Regions from separate parts of the Homo sapiens genome. Here all the other regions are linked to region 3. The links are contacts of gene promoters, found by promoter capture Hi-C in blood cells and fetal thymus (Javierre and others, 2016). All regions are on one chromosome and are shown on one strand. Each heading gives the region's core, a stretch centred on a gene start or on the middle of the fragment in contact. The rest is flanking DNA. Distances are from core to core; before and after follow the strand shown. Region 1 overlaps FANCM (FA complementation group M). Region 2 overlaps FANCM (FA complementation group M). Region 3 holds the start of DORIP1 (dopamine receptor interacting protein 1).

Region 1 (3,989 bases), core at 688-3,187, 260 kb before region 3:
TAGAAAACCGAATGTCCTCTTACTCAGAGCATAAGGCTACCTTAAATACTATCATGGTTTCTTCTGACCCCACTTCTAAAATAAGATTTTTAAATAAATAAAAAGAGGCTAATTATTTGTTTAGAATAAATTATTAAAGCGACTTAATAAACATTTATTGGTGGCTCTACAATAAGATCTCTTTCAATGCTTACAACAACTCTATGATGTATGTTTACAGATAAGGAAAACTGAGGAAGAGGAAGTAAAGAAACTTTTAAGTGGTAGAGTCAGGATTCCAACCCAGTTAATATAATTCCACAGCTTTTCTGCTTAACTTTTACACTTTACATTACTTTAAAAAAAAAAAAGTTCCAAAACCACATAAAACATTTGTTATCATCTTTCAAAATATGCTTATTTTTACCTACACGTTTACTGTAAAATTCTTTTTAAGTAGCTAATTGACCAGTGAGTTAAAACTAACAAAAAAAGAACAAGTGCAAAGCTAATCAATCTTATTTTTATTTTTATCAATTCCAAAAATAATTACCTCCAGTTGCTCCTTCTGGGTAAAACCCTTCGTGCTTTTCCCTGAGGCATGGCCGACAAAAGTCATTACTCTAATAATTGGCTGATGCTGTGAAAGCATTTCTGCAATTTCTTGAACACTATCTCGAAATGAAGAGAAGATCATAACTCGGGTCTCATCACGTTTCTTTTCAGTAGTGTTTTCAGCTATATATATATATAAAAACTTTAATTACAACTTTTTACAAAGCATTTAGACAAGAAATAGTTCAAAAGACAAACCTGAAAGTGTTAATGCTAACGAATGATAATTCTTTCAAAAAAATAATTCAGCTGGATGTGGTGGCACACACCTATAGTCCCAGCTACTTGGGAGGCTGAGATGGGGAAATCGCTTGAGCCCAGGAGTTCAAGACCAGCCTGGGCAACATAACATAGCAAGACCCAGTCTCTAATAAACAAACATACAAATAAATAAATAATTTCAAACATCTTGAAATTTTTTAAACTATATTCTCTATTAATTTTAATAATCTTAGCTTATTACCATTGGCTGTCATAAAATAAAATCCTAAACAAATCAAATATGAATTATCTGAATCACTTTTGACTAGTCCTTCAACTCAGGCATAATGGCTATCATTTCCCTTTACCTTCTAAGATGGCCAGAAGCACAGAACTATGCAGCTCCCCCTAATTTCATAAGTCTTCCCTTTCCTTTCTGTTCACTAAAGGAAATGTCTTAATCCAAGCCATGCATTCTGTCCTCAAATCTACTATACTTTCAAATTCTCCAAAGACAACTGCAGAACATACCCTACAGTGAATTCCAAAGCTGCTCCCGATATGTCTGTGCTGGGGGGCGGGTGAGGTAGGGGGGTGGCGGGCAGTAGAATGCACTAATAAGAACATGATCTTTGTGGCTGGGCACTTAATTCTCTGGGTGATTGGTGATCATGGTAGTTATTTAAACTCTTTAAGCTTTAGTTTCTTCATATCTAATATGGATTGATGTATAAATGAAACAGTATATAGTTTTGCACATATAGTAATTGGCTAATTATTGCATACTGTGTGGGGTTTTTGGTTGTTTGTTTTTATTTTTGAGACAGGGTCATGTTTGGTCACCTAGGCTGGAATGCAGTGGCACCATCATGGCTCACTACAGCTTCGACCTCTTGGGCTCAGGTGATCCTCCCACCTCATGCTCTGAGTAGCTGGGACTACAGGCTCATGCCACCATGCCCAGCTACATTTTAAAATTTTTTTGTAGAGACGGGGTTTTGCCATGTTGCCAAGGCTGGTCTCGAACTCCTGGGCTGAAGAGATCTGCCCACCTCAGCCTCCCAAAGTGCTGGGATTACAGGCATGAGCCACGACATCCAACCTCTACTGATTTTTATTATCTTAATCATCATATGTGTTCCAAGGACCGCACTACGCATTTTATGTATGTTAACTCATTTAATCTTCACAACTCCTCTAAGGAATAAATGACTTATTAAATATAAAGTTAATTTACAATACAAAAACAAAACGTAGGACTTGAAGAAGCAGCTGTTCCAAGTAAAATTATTCTAAACAAACTTCTTTTGAATCATCATTGCATCAAGCATCAAGTCTCTGTATGTGACCAGCTCCTGAATGAATTGCTACTTTCATCACAAAACCTGTATCTCCTTCAATCTGTCACAGCCTGCCTTTTTACCCTCATTCCACTAAAGCTCCTTTCAGCAAAATCATCAATAACTTCCATACTGCCAAGTTCAATCGACACTTTTTAGTTTAACACACTTTCCTCTTTCCTTCTGAAATAGTCTCTTTCTTCAGCTTCTCTAACATTTTACTTGTCCAGTTTCCTCCCCAAGCTTTTTTTCCTCCAAACTCTTAACTGTTGATATTCTTCAGGACTCCATTCTGGACCCTCCTCTGTATATCTCTAAACTGTTGTCCTGATAATCACATCTATTCCTGAAACTTTAAATATTACCTTTATGCTGATAACTCCAAAATGTATTCACATATATGTAAATATGTAAAAACAGCAGCAATCATTCTTCTGAGATCCAGATTTGGTTATCTAATGCCTACTTGACACTTAGGTGTCTCAAAAACATCTTAACATGTTTGCTCTTTCTTTTGTTATTCTTTTTTTTAATTGACAAATAAAAGTTGTATATATTTATGTTGTACAATATGTTTTGAGATGTCTATATACATTGTGAAATGGCTAAATCAAGCTAATTAACATACATATTACCTCACATACTTATCTCTATTCTTCATTTTTCACTTTGCTCATGTAATCATTTGCAAACATGTACACATAAATGTATATACCCAGCCATATGATTCCTTTTTTCCTTTTTTTTTTTTTTTTTTTTTTGAGACAGAGTCTCACTCTTTTGCCAGGCTGCAGTGCAGTGGCGCAATCTTGGCTTACCGCAACCTCCGTCTCCCAGGTTCAAGAGATTCTCCTGCCTCAGCCTCCCGAGTAGCTGAGACTACAGGCACATACCACCACACTCAGCTAATTTTTGTATTTTTAGTAGAGACGGGGTTTCACCATGTTGGCCAGGATGGTTTTGATTTCTTGACCTCGTGATCTGCCCACCTCGGCCTCTCACAGTGCTGGGATTACAGGTGTGAGCCACTGCACCTGGCCAATTCCCTTTTTCTTATACCATACGTCTAATCCATCAACAAATACAATAAATAAGTTGGCTCCAATTTGAACATATATCTAGAATCTATCTCCCAGCACCTTGACCACTATTGCCTTGATGAACACCACTATTATGTGTCATCATCCAAGACTATCGTAATACTTTTCTAGGTTATCAATGTCTATGCTCCACAAAACTACCAGAGTGATCCTTAAAATGTCATGTCATTCCACTGCTACAAATACCTCTGTTTGGTTTTGCAAAGCACAAATATTCAGAAATTAAAAACTAAAGTCTGATATTATCTGCATACCTCTCATCTATACCACTTGTAGGCTCAGTCATACTTGTAGCCTCAATCTAACCACACTGGTCTGTTTAATCACACCAAGCACCCTACTGCCACCTCAAGGCCTTTGAATCTGCTATTTTTACTGCTTGGAATTATCTCTCCCCCAGCCTCCAAAACTCACAAGGCTTCCTCCCTTATCTCCATCATCACTTTAAATATCCCTCTACAGAGAAGTCTTCTATAACCATGCTATATAAAACAGCACTCCTCTATAACTCTCTCTCTCCTAATCTACTTTACTCTTTTACTGGTACTATATATTGTTTTACTCTCCACTTCCCTTATATTACCCCATGCTAACTTATATAGTACCTTATTCTTAACATTCCCACCACCACCCTTGCCCTAGCCCTTCCAAAATTTCTCACAGCTTTTTAGTATTCATTATCCAGAGTTAATTAAAAGCCCACCTTCTCCATAAGAAATGTTAGAATAAACTAATAGGTTGAAGGTTTTTCTTT
Region 2 (4,013 bases), core at 209-2,708, 280 kb before region 3:
GCTGAATGTGACAGCAAACAGGTGCATTTATCACTTCGTAAATGCTCTGCACAGGGTAAGAAAAGCAAATTCTCAAGTGCAGTACCCTTAGCAATTTCATATTCCAAGTCTGAGAGTCCACTGAGAGGCGGAGGAGAATAAGATAAAAATCTCTCTACATTAGCTAGTACCTCTTTTGTCAATGAGTGACAATTATAAAATTGGTCATCTGTTCTAACAATATAAAGCTCTTCTTCGAATGGAAGAAATAAGTTAGATGAAACAGATTTTTCATCATTGAAACTGTTATAACCAGAATCTAAAACATTTCCAGCAAGTGAACTAGTGGATTTATTTGTAAACTGACACTCTGTTAATAACACACACGGTTCTTTAATAACATTTTCATTAATAGTACATGTGGCAGCAATTTCATCTGTATCTGATGTCCTTTTATCATTTGGTAGGTCTTCTTGAAAAATATTTTCAACAGTGGAATTTCTGTCATTATCTACAGAATCTATAATACCGTGATTATTTTCTTTTTTAAGCTGATCTTTTTTTATTTCTTTAGACACTTTTTTCTTTAAAGAAACAATTTTAGTAGGTTTGATATGAGTTTGTTTAACAATTTCAGCACATTCTTCATCAGATTCTATCACTGAGGATGAACTGCCTTGATTTATGTTCTTTATAAATGACGATTTCTTGTGAGTGATAAAGGTGTCACTGGCAAGATTATTAGATTCATTCCTGGGAGCAATAAATGTTGAGGTAACATCTTCCATTTGTAAATAAGATTCAACTTCCAATTCATAGCTGCATTCTCCCTATAAATAAGGAAAATTTAAAAAGCCACAGGAAAACAAAACAAAACAGAAAGCCAAATCTAAGAGAGGAGTTTCACTCTATATTAAAATATTTATATTATTACATTGTTCCAGTGATATTCTTTTATACCTTAAAAGTTATTCCGATAAATCAAAATTATAAAGTACACTACTGTGAAACTATCAAGTTATCATTAATCAGTTAACTTTTTTGTATCCCCAGTACTTAATACCCAAAAGACCCTTGGTAACTATTTGTAGGAAGAACAAATTGAATGAATACATAAGAATATAGTGAGTTTTACATTTCTAACATTTAACTGAATTATTCTAATTTCTTAAAAATAGATATTTTAAAAACATATATTAATAAAAACCATATACATTTGTTAAATTTACTCTTTCAATGACAGTAAACTAAGAATAGCTTTTGGAATGTCCAACATAGTAGTACCTGTATGTCTGCTAGGTTGTATCCTGGAATATACTTCTATTTGTAACAAAGTTCCTAATCAAGGATTCGTATAGTGAATTTCTAAGTCTTACTTATCTCTAAGTTATTAGCTAAAACTTACAATCTCCACCATCCCTCCTTTCCCCTAAGAATGCTACTTTAATCAGGATTCCTCTACTACTTATAGACTTAAGCAGTTACCTCTCTGGTTTTTTTGTTTTTTTTTTTTTTAGACAAAGTCTCGCTCTGTCGCCCAGGCTGGAGTACGGTGACTTGATCTTGGCTCACTGCAACCTCCGCTTCCCGGGTTCAAGTGACTCTCCTGCCTCAGCCTTCTGAGTAGCTGGGATTACAGGCATGTGCCACCACACCCAGCTAATTTTTGTATTTTTAGTACAGACAGGGTTTCCTCATATTGGCCAGGCTGGTCTCGAACTCCTGACCTCAAGTGATCTGCCTGCTTCGGCCTCCCAAAGCCTGAGATTACAGGCATGAGCCACCGCACCTGGCCCTCTGCTTTTTTGAATAATAAATATAATAAGCATTAATGTGAGCAAATGTCTGTCTCCCTGCTAGTATATATACTCCACATAAACAGAATATTTTCTCTGTTTGCTAACGGTTATAGCCATAAAGCAGGGAATAGAGTGTGGCACACAGAAGGCACTCAATAAATATATGTTAATTTGATTGCACACATTTTGCTGGGATCCACATCTAACTACTTTATTTACATGTATGCATGATCAAAGGCTAATAATAAAAATAGGAGCTACAATTTACTGTGTACTTATCATATGCCAGCTACTACGTGCTTTACATATATTAGGTCATTTAATCCTCACAACAACCTTATGAAATAAGTATTATCACTATGACTATTTTACAGATAAAACTGAAGCACTGAGAGGTTAAATAACTTACAAACACACAATCAGTAGGAGGCAGAGTTAGGATTCTAACCCAGGCACTATGGATTTCACACTCATAATTGGTTCACTATGCTGACTCTAGGAAGAATAATCAAGGAACTGCTCAAGGAATCTATAATTCTCTAAACTAGGACCAGGATACAAGAAAGATATCAAATAACCTAGATGACAGAGAGTATTTCAATAAATCCGAATCCAAAAGAATCCTAAATAAGGTTTACAAACAGTTTACATAAATCATTTAAGTATATTAAAATTCTACTCTGGTCTATCAATATTTACAGATGATATTCTTCTTCTAATTAATTAAATCTATTTCTTCTCTTAAGGCAGAAAACTCATTCTTTACTGAGATCACAAGGAACTATACAGAAAAACAAAGTATTTCTTATTACTTCAAATTAAGAAAAATAAAAGCTAAGTACTCTAGTTTTACTATCATACCAGCAAGAGAAAGTTACAATAAAACCCCACCTCTTCGTGTCTCATTCCCTCTATCATTTGCATAAGGCCTATAAAATGGCGGCATCGATCTGAGTGATCAACTTGATGTGTAGGCAAAGGATGATCTTGCCACAGTCTCCATTCAGAGAGAGAGAGTTGATGAATTCCAGTGGTTGATTCTTGAGCCTTAATTATTTAAAAAGTAATAAAAATGATGAAAACATACTGAGATTTCACAAACTAATTTTAAAAAACACTCAATATACATATAATCAGCTTAACATAATTTGGATCCATTTAGATACTCCCAACTAAAATCTCAGAAGAAAAAAAGAAAATAATTTCATAAAGCAGAAAGATGCCCTTTAAAATATATTTGTTAAGTAACTGTTATATGACTTACAAGTTGACAATATTCCTGTTTATATAGTTCCATGTTAAGAGCAAACAGTTAAATATTTTAAAAGAAATCTTTTCTGAGGTTGTTTTCCCAGCTCTCCAGGCACATCTACAACCTTTGATCAGTTCTCTTGACTTTCACAAAGTTAACAAAGAATTTGTTAATAATAAACAAAATAAACAATAACATCAAATTTAAAGTTTTAAATATAATTTCAAAACAAAAATTTTATTTTTTGTTTTGGTTTACAAGGATGCTTATGAAAGCATAATTTATGTTTACAGCCAACTGATCTTCAACAAAGCAAACAAAAACATAAAGTGGGGAAAGGACACCATATTCAACCAAATGATACTGGGATAACTGGCAAGCCACATGCAGAAGAATGAAACTGGATCCTCATCCCTCACCTTATACAAAAATCAACTCAAGATGGATCGAAGCCCTACCTCTAAGACCTGAAACCATAAAAATTCTGTCACATTGAAAAAACTCTTCTAGACATTGGCTTAGGCAAAGAGTTCATGACCAAGAACCCAAAAGCAAATGCAACAAAAACAAAGATAGATGGGGCTAAATTAAACTAAATGCTTTTGCACAGCAGAGTAAACAGACAACCCACAGGGTAGGAGAAAATCTTTGTAAAATATGCATCCAACAAAGGATTAATATCCAGAATCTATAAGGAACTCAAATGGCCAATAAACATATAAAAAATGTTCAACATCACTAATTATCAGAGAAATACAAATCAAAACCACAATACAATACCACCTTACTCCTGCAAGAATGGCCATAATTAAAAAAATCAAAAAATAATAGATGTTGGAGTGGATGTGGTGAAAAGGGAACACTTTTACACTGCTGGTGGGAGTGTAAATTAGTACAGCTACTAGGCAATACAATACGGAGATTCCTTAAAGAACTAAAAGCAGAACTACCATTTGATCCAGCAGTCCCACTACTGGGTATCT
Region 3 (4,016 bases), core at 74-2,573:
ATGCATTCAAATACTTTAAAAACGAAAATAACTTTATGGTTTGATTTATTTCCGTTGAATTTTAAAGAACTTTGTAGCAAGGTTTAAGATTGCTTAAAGAGCCTGAGTTCGGATTCCTAAAATAGTGCATTGGGAAGGAAGCATAAATCTCTAGGATATTTTCTTCACATTATCTTCAGACATGACCAAATGAAGTGTAACTACCCTTACACTCTAAGAGAATTAAACTATAATGACATATGTGGCATGAAACTTTAGTCTTTCTCTGGAAAAAACGGGAGGAGGGAAGGTTTGGAAGAACTAGAGGATACTAGTTTCATCATGAATTTGGTGATTTGTTCCAAAGTAAATTGCAATAAAAATGAGGGGTGGGGAAAAATGATGGAAAGATAGCTGTGAAGAGCTTTACTTAAAATTGTCTTAGCTGTTTAGCTAGGAACTGTAATTAGAAGGACTGGAGGATGTATTCCGCTGGCTTTATTCTCCAGGCTCTACGGGCCCTCCAATTTGAATAAACCTGGAAAACTCTCCTGACCTCTATTTCTTTGACAAAACATCTTTCTTTCGTGGTGACTTCCAAGGGAGGAAATTGGTACCCCAAGCTAGCCGTGAGGACCCCACCACATGCCCAAGGCATTGAACGCCAGACTCCCTAAGGACTCAGGGATTCTAAAAGTCCCCTCTCAAATCAGCGCCTAAAATACGCCTGTACAGCCACGCGCTACCGCTCCCAGCAGCGCGGGACTTCGGGACAGGGACAAGGCGGACGCTAGGCGTGCGCCCCCGGGGAGCCCCCACGTTCCGGCCACGCCCACCCTGGCCCTGGGCAGCCGCGCCCGGGAGGCCTGGCACCGAGGCGGGCGGGTCCCCGAGTTAGGGGCCCGCGAGTCGGCTGGGCGCCCCCGCCTCTGCCCGGGCAGTGCCCCGCCGAGTGCTCAGAACTGCGGACAAATAGGCTGGAGGGCCGGGCCGCGGAAGGCGTTCCCACACCGGCCAGTCTCCGTCCACCAGGAAGCAAACTCCTCGTACCTCCCTGGGGACCGAAAACTGCCGGTGCCGCCGCACCCGTCGCCGCCGCCGCCTGCTCATGGAGAGCCCGGGCTGCCGCCGCCGCCGCCGCCGCCGCTGCCTCATCTATGAGTACCGCCGGCTGTCTCGGCCTCCCCCGGCGTGAGTTCTGGGCTCTGGCATGGCCTCCATGGCAGCCGCCGCGGCGGGAGCCACAGCAGCTCCAGCGCCCAGGCCCAATCTCACTGGACCCACGGAGCCAGGACAGTGGGACACGTCGCTTCTTATTACGGAGGAAGATTCGGCACGACCTCCGCCCCCCTCCCCCCAACCCCCCCGTTTTCAGCCGCCTGACAGCGCAGCTGCGCAGGCGCGAAGACGCCCCAGCCTAATGTGCGTGTGTCGGCTGTGTATACAGCATCCAGATTCGCCCAATGGGAACCAGGATCAGGTGTGGGGGGCGGGACCTCGCAGAGAGGGGCGGGGTTCCACTGGTAGAAGGTGGGTGGGGAAGCCGGAAGTGGGCAGAGTTTGCACGGAGGCGGAGCTTTATTGGCAAACCTGATTGGCTTTTTGAGGTTTGTACCATTTTAGGACTTGATTTTAGTTTGCTTCTGGGTCTTGTTTTCTCAAATTCTTAACCTAGAAAGAAAGCTTTGTTTTCTCAGTAAATTACGGTTTTTTAAGCGTTTAAGTATTTACTTAGAAAACAGTTGAATTGATCTGTTAAATGCCAGCTTTAGTGTTCAAGTTAATTATTGGCCAATATACTGTAACTTACAGTGGAAGTTAACCCCATTTTGAAAAATTAGATTGTTTTAATTCCATTGTGAAGTTGAAAAAATTGGGTTTTGGAGATAATAAGGTCCCACACAGCAAGTGACGGAGCTGGAAATTACAGTTAGGACAACTTAATGCTAGTTTGTGGGCTCAACCACTATTTCTGTTTATTAGGGCCGAGTTTTTGTATCTCCCGTAAAGAAGCAAGGCCCTGTATGGCTCTGCATCTGGAGAACACAGGCCACCCTGCAAAAACTACCTCTCCTTGCAAGTAGGCATGGAGATCTGGTTGAGATTTTCCCCATCCAGCCTTTCAACAAATAATGAGGGTCTGGAAAGTTAGCTCTAACGTTCAGAACACGTGAGGGCTAATGAGAGAGCTCAAGGCTATCCTAGTAAATCAGTGTGGTTTTCCGTCACAGGCTGAGCCTGGGAGAGGCTGGATGCCTTCTTGACCGGTGTGATGGTCGGCCAAAGCTATGGAGGGGAACTTCCTCATGGATCTCTCTAAAAAAGTCTAGAAATGGAAGAGAGACTTCCATTTCTTGAGTTTTGGCTCTGCCCAAAAAAGAATAATTAATAGCTCTGGCAAAGCCTGCTCTTTTTAGTTTCCTGTTTTTTCTTATTTCTTATGGTATTTTATAGATGAGGAAACTGAGGCTCTTAGAGATAAACTAGTGTGTTGGAAAACTTGCAAAAAGTTCACTCTCAATATTAATCCTCTCCTACAGGTAGAAAAGCCCTTTAAAAATGTTTGTAAATGTGGATTATGTGTTTAATTATAAATCTCTCACAAGACATGGAGTTCATTTTATACTGATTAGGTCATTCTCTTCCTGAAAACAGCCATAGTATGGTGGATGACACCATTTCTGGAGAATAGTATTGAGATTGCTCATTAAACTCTGCCGAGTCTCAGCTAGATGGAGGAAGCATGGATTCCTTGAATACTTGGATAACTCACAAACATCACTGAGGCCTTTAACTGAAATTTCCATTCTGCATCTTTTCCACCGTCTTCAAAATCTGACATCTGAGTTGTAGGGTTTTTTTAGATATATTTACTGAAGTATAATTGGCATAGAATATATAGAGCATACTTAAAGTGTATAATTTTTATCAGTTTTGACATATGTATAACCCCTTAAACCATCACTGTGATCAAATGAGTATGCCCATCACACTTAAGTTTCTGCTTACCTACCGCCCCCCAACTCTGCCTTTTTTTTTTTTTTTTTTTTTTTTTTTTTTCAGAATCCTGATCTGTTACCCAGGCTGGAGTGCAGTGAATGATCTCGGCTTATTGCAACTTCCGCCTCCCAGGATCAAGAGTTTCTGGTATCTCAGCTTTCCGAGTAGCTGGGATTATAGACGTGCACCACCATGCCTAGCTAATTTTTGTATTTTTAGTAGAGGCAGAGTTTCACCATGTTGGCCAGGCTGGTCTCAAACTCCTGGCCTCAGGTGATCTGCCCACCTCGGCCTCCCAAAGTGCTGGGATTACAGGCGTGAGCCACCACACCTGGCCCTCATTCTCTTAGCAGTGTATTTTGAAGAGAAGTTTTAACTTTTAATAAAGTTTAATTTATTTATTATTTTATGGATTACATTTCTAGTGTTGTTTCTAAGAAATTTTTGCCTACCCCAAGCTCACAAAGAAATTTTCCTATGTTTTCTTATAAAAGTTTTATGTGTTCAAGCTGTACATTTAGATGTATGATGCATTGTAGTTAACTTTCTTATATAGTTTGAGGCATGTATCCAAGTTCATATTTGATGTATGGATACCCAGTCATCGCAGCAATTTTTTTTTTGAAAAGCCTGTACTTTTTCCACTGGGTTGCTTTTGTGCTTTTGTCAAAAATTAGTTGCGCAGCTTGGGCGCAGTAGCTCACGCCTGTAATCCCAGCAGTTTGGGAGGCCGAGGCGGGCGGATCACAAGATCAGGAGATCGAGACCATCCTGGCTAACATGGTGAAACCCCGTCTCTACTAAAAATATAAAAAATTAGCCGGGCATGGTGGCGGGTACCTGTAGTCCCAGCTACTTGGGAGGCTGAGGCAGGAGAATGGCGTGAACCAGGGGGGCGGAGCTTGCAGTGAGCCGAGATCACACCACTGCACTCCAGCCTGGGCGACAGAGCGAGTCTCCATCTAAACAAAAAAACAAAAACAAAAAAATTAGTTGCCCAATACCATTTTATAAACACTTTATTTATTTATTATCAA

Evidence for each region. The method cuts DNA at HindIII sites, captures the fragments that hold promoters and counts their contacts. A CHiCAGO score of 5 or more calls a contact.
Region 1: a contact is called between a fragment that was not itself captured here and the fragment with the promoter of DORIP1 in region 3, in 14 of 17 cell types (activated CD4 T cells, naive CD8 T cells, total CD8 T cells and 11 more). The highest score is 14.5, in activated CD4 T cells.
Region 2: a fragment that was not itself captured here is called in contact with the fragment with the promoter of DORIP1 in region 3 in 7 of 17 cell types (naive CD4 T cells, total CD4 T cells, neutrophils and 4 more); the score reaches 8.8 in naive CD4 T cells.

What each region holds. Positions count from the first base shown.
Region 1 is chr14:45,155,824-45,159,812 of GRCh38, reverse strand. FANCM (FA complementation group M) reads right to left here. Exons shown (of 23, transcript NM_020937.4): 9 at 533-717. Among named protein-coding and RNA genes, the nearest start is that of FANCM, 22 kb to the right of the region's middle. The HindIII fragment of the contact is 887 bases long and covers 1,494-2,380 here.
Region 2 is chr14:45,171,867-45,175,879 of GRCh38, reverse strand. It overlaps FANCM (FA complementation group M), which reads right to left. Exons shown (of 23, transcript NM_020937.4): 13 at 2,670-2,825; 14 at 1-809. Among named protein-coding and RNA genes, the nearest start is that of FANCM, 38 kb to the right of the region's middle. The HindIII fragment of the contact is 8,866 bases long and covers 1-4,013 here.
Region 3 is chr14:44,894,582-44,898,597 of GRCh38, reverse strand. It overlaps DORIP1 (dopamine receptor interacting protein 1), which reads right to left and starts at 1,323. Exons shown (of 5, transcript NM_001017923.2): 1 at 1,030-1,323. RefSeq lists silencers at 669-988, 1,009-1,138 and enhancers at 505-1,004, 1,629-1,678. The HindIII fragment of the contact is 3,873 bases long and covers 1-1,664 here.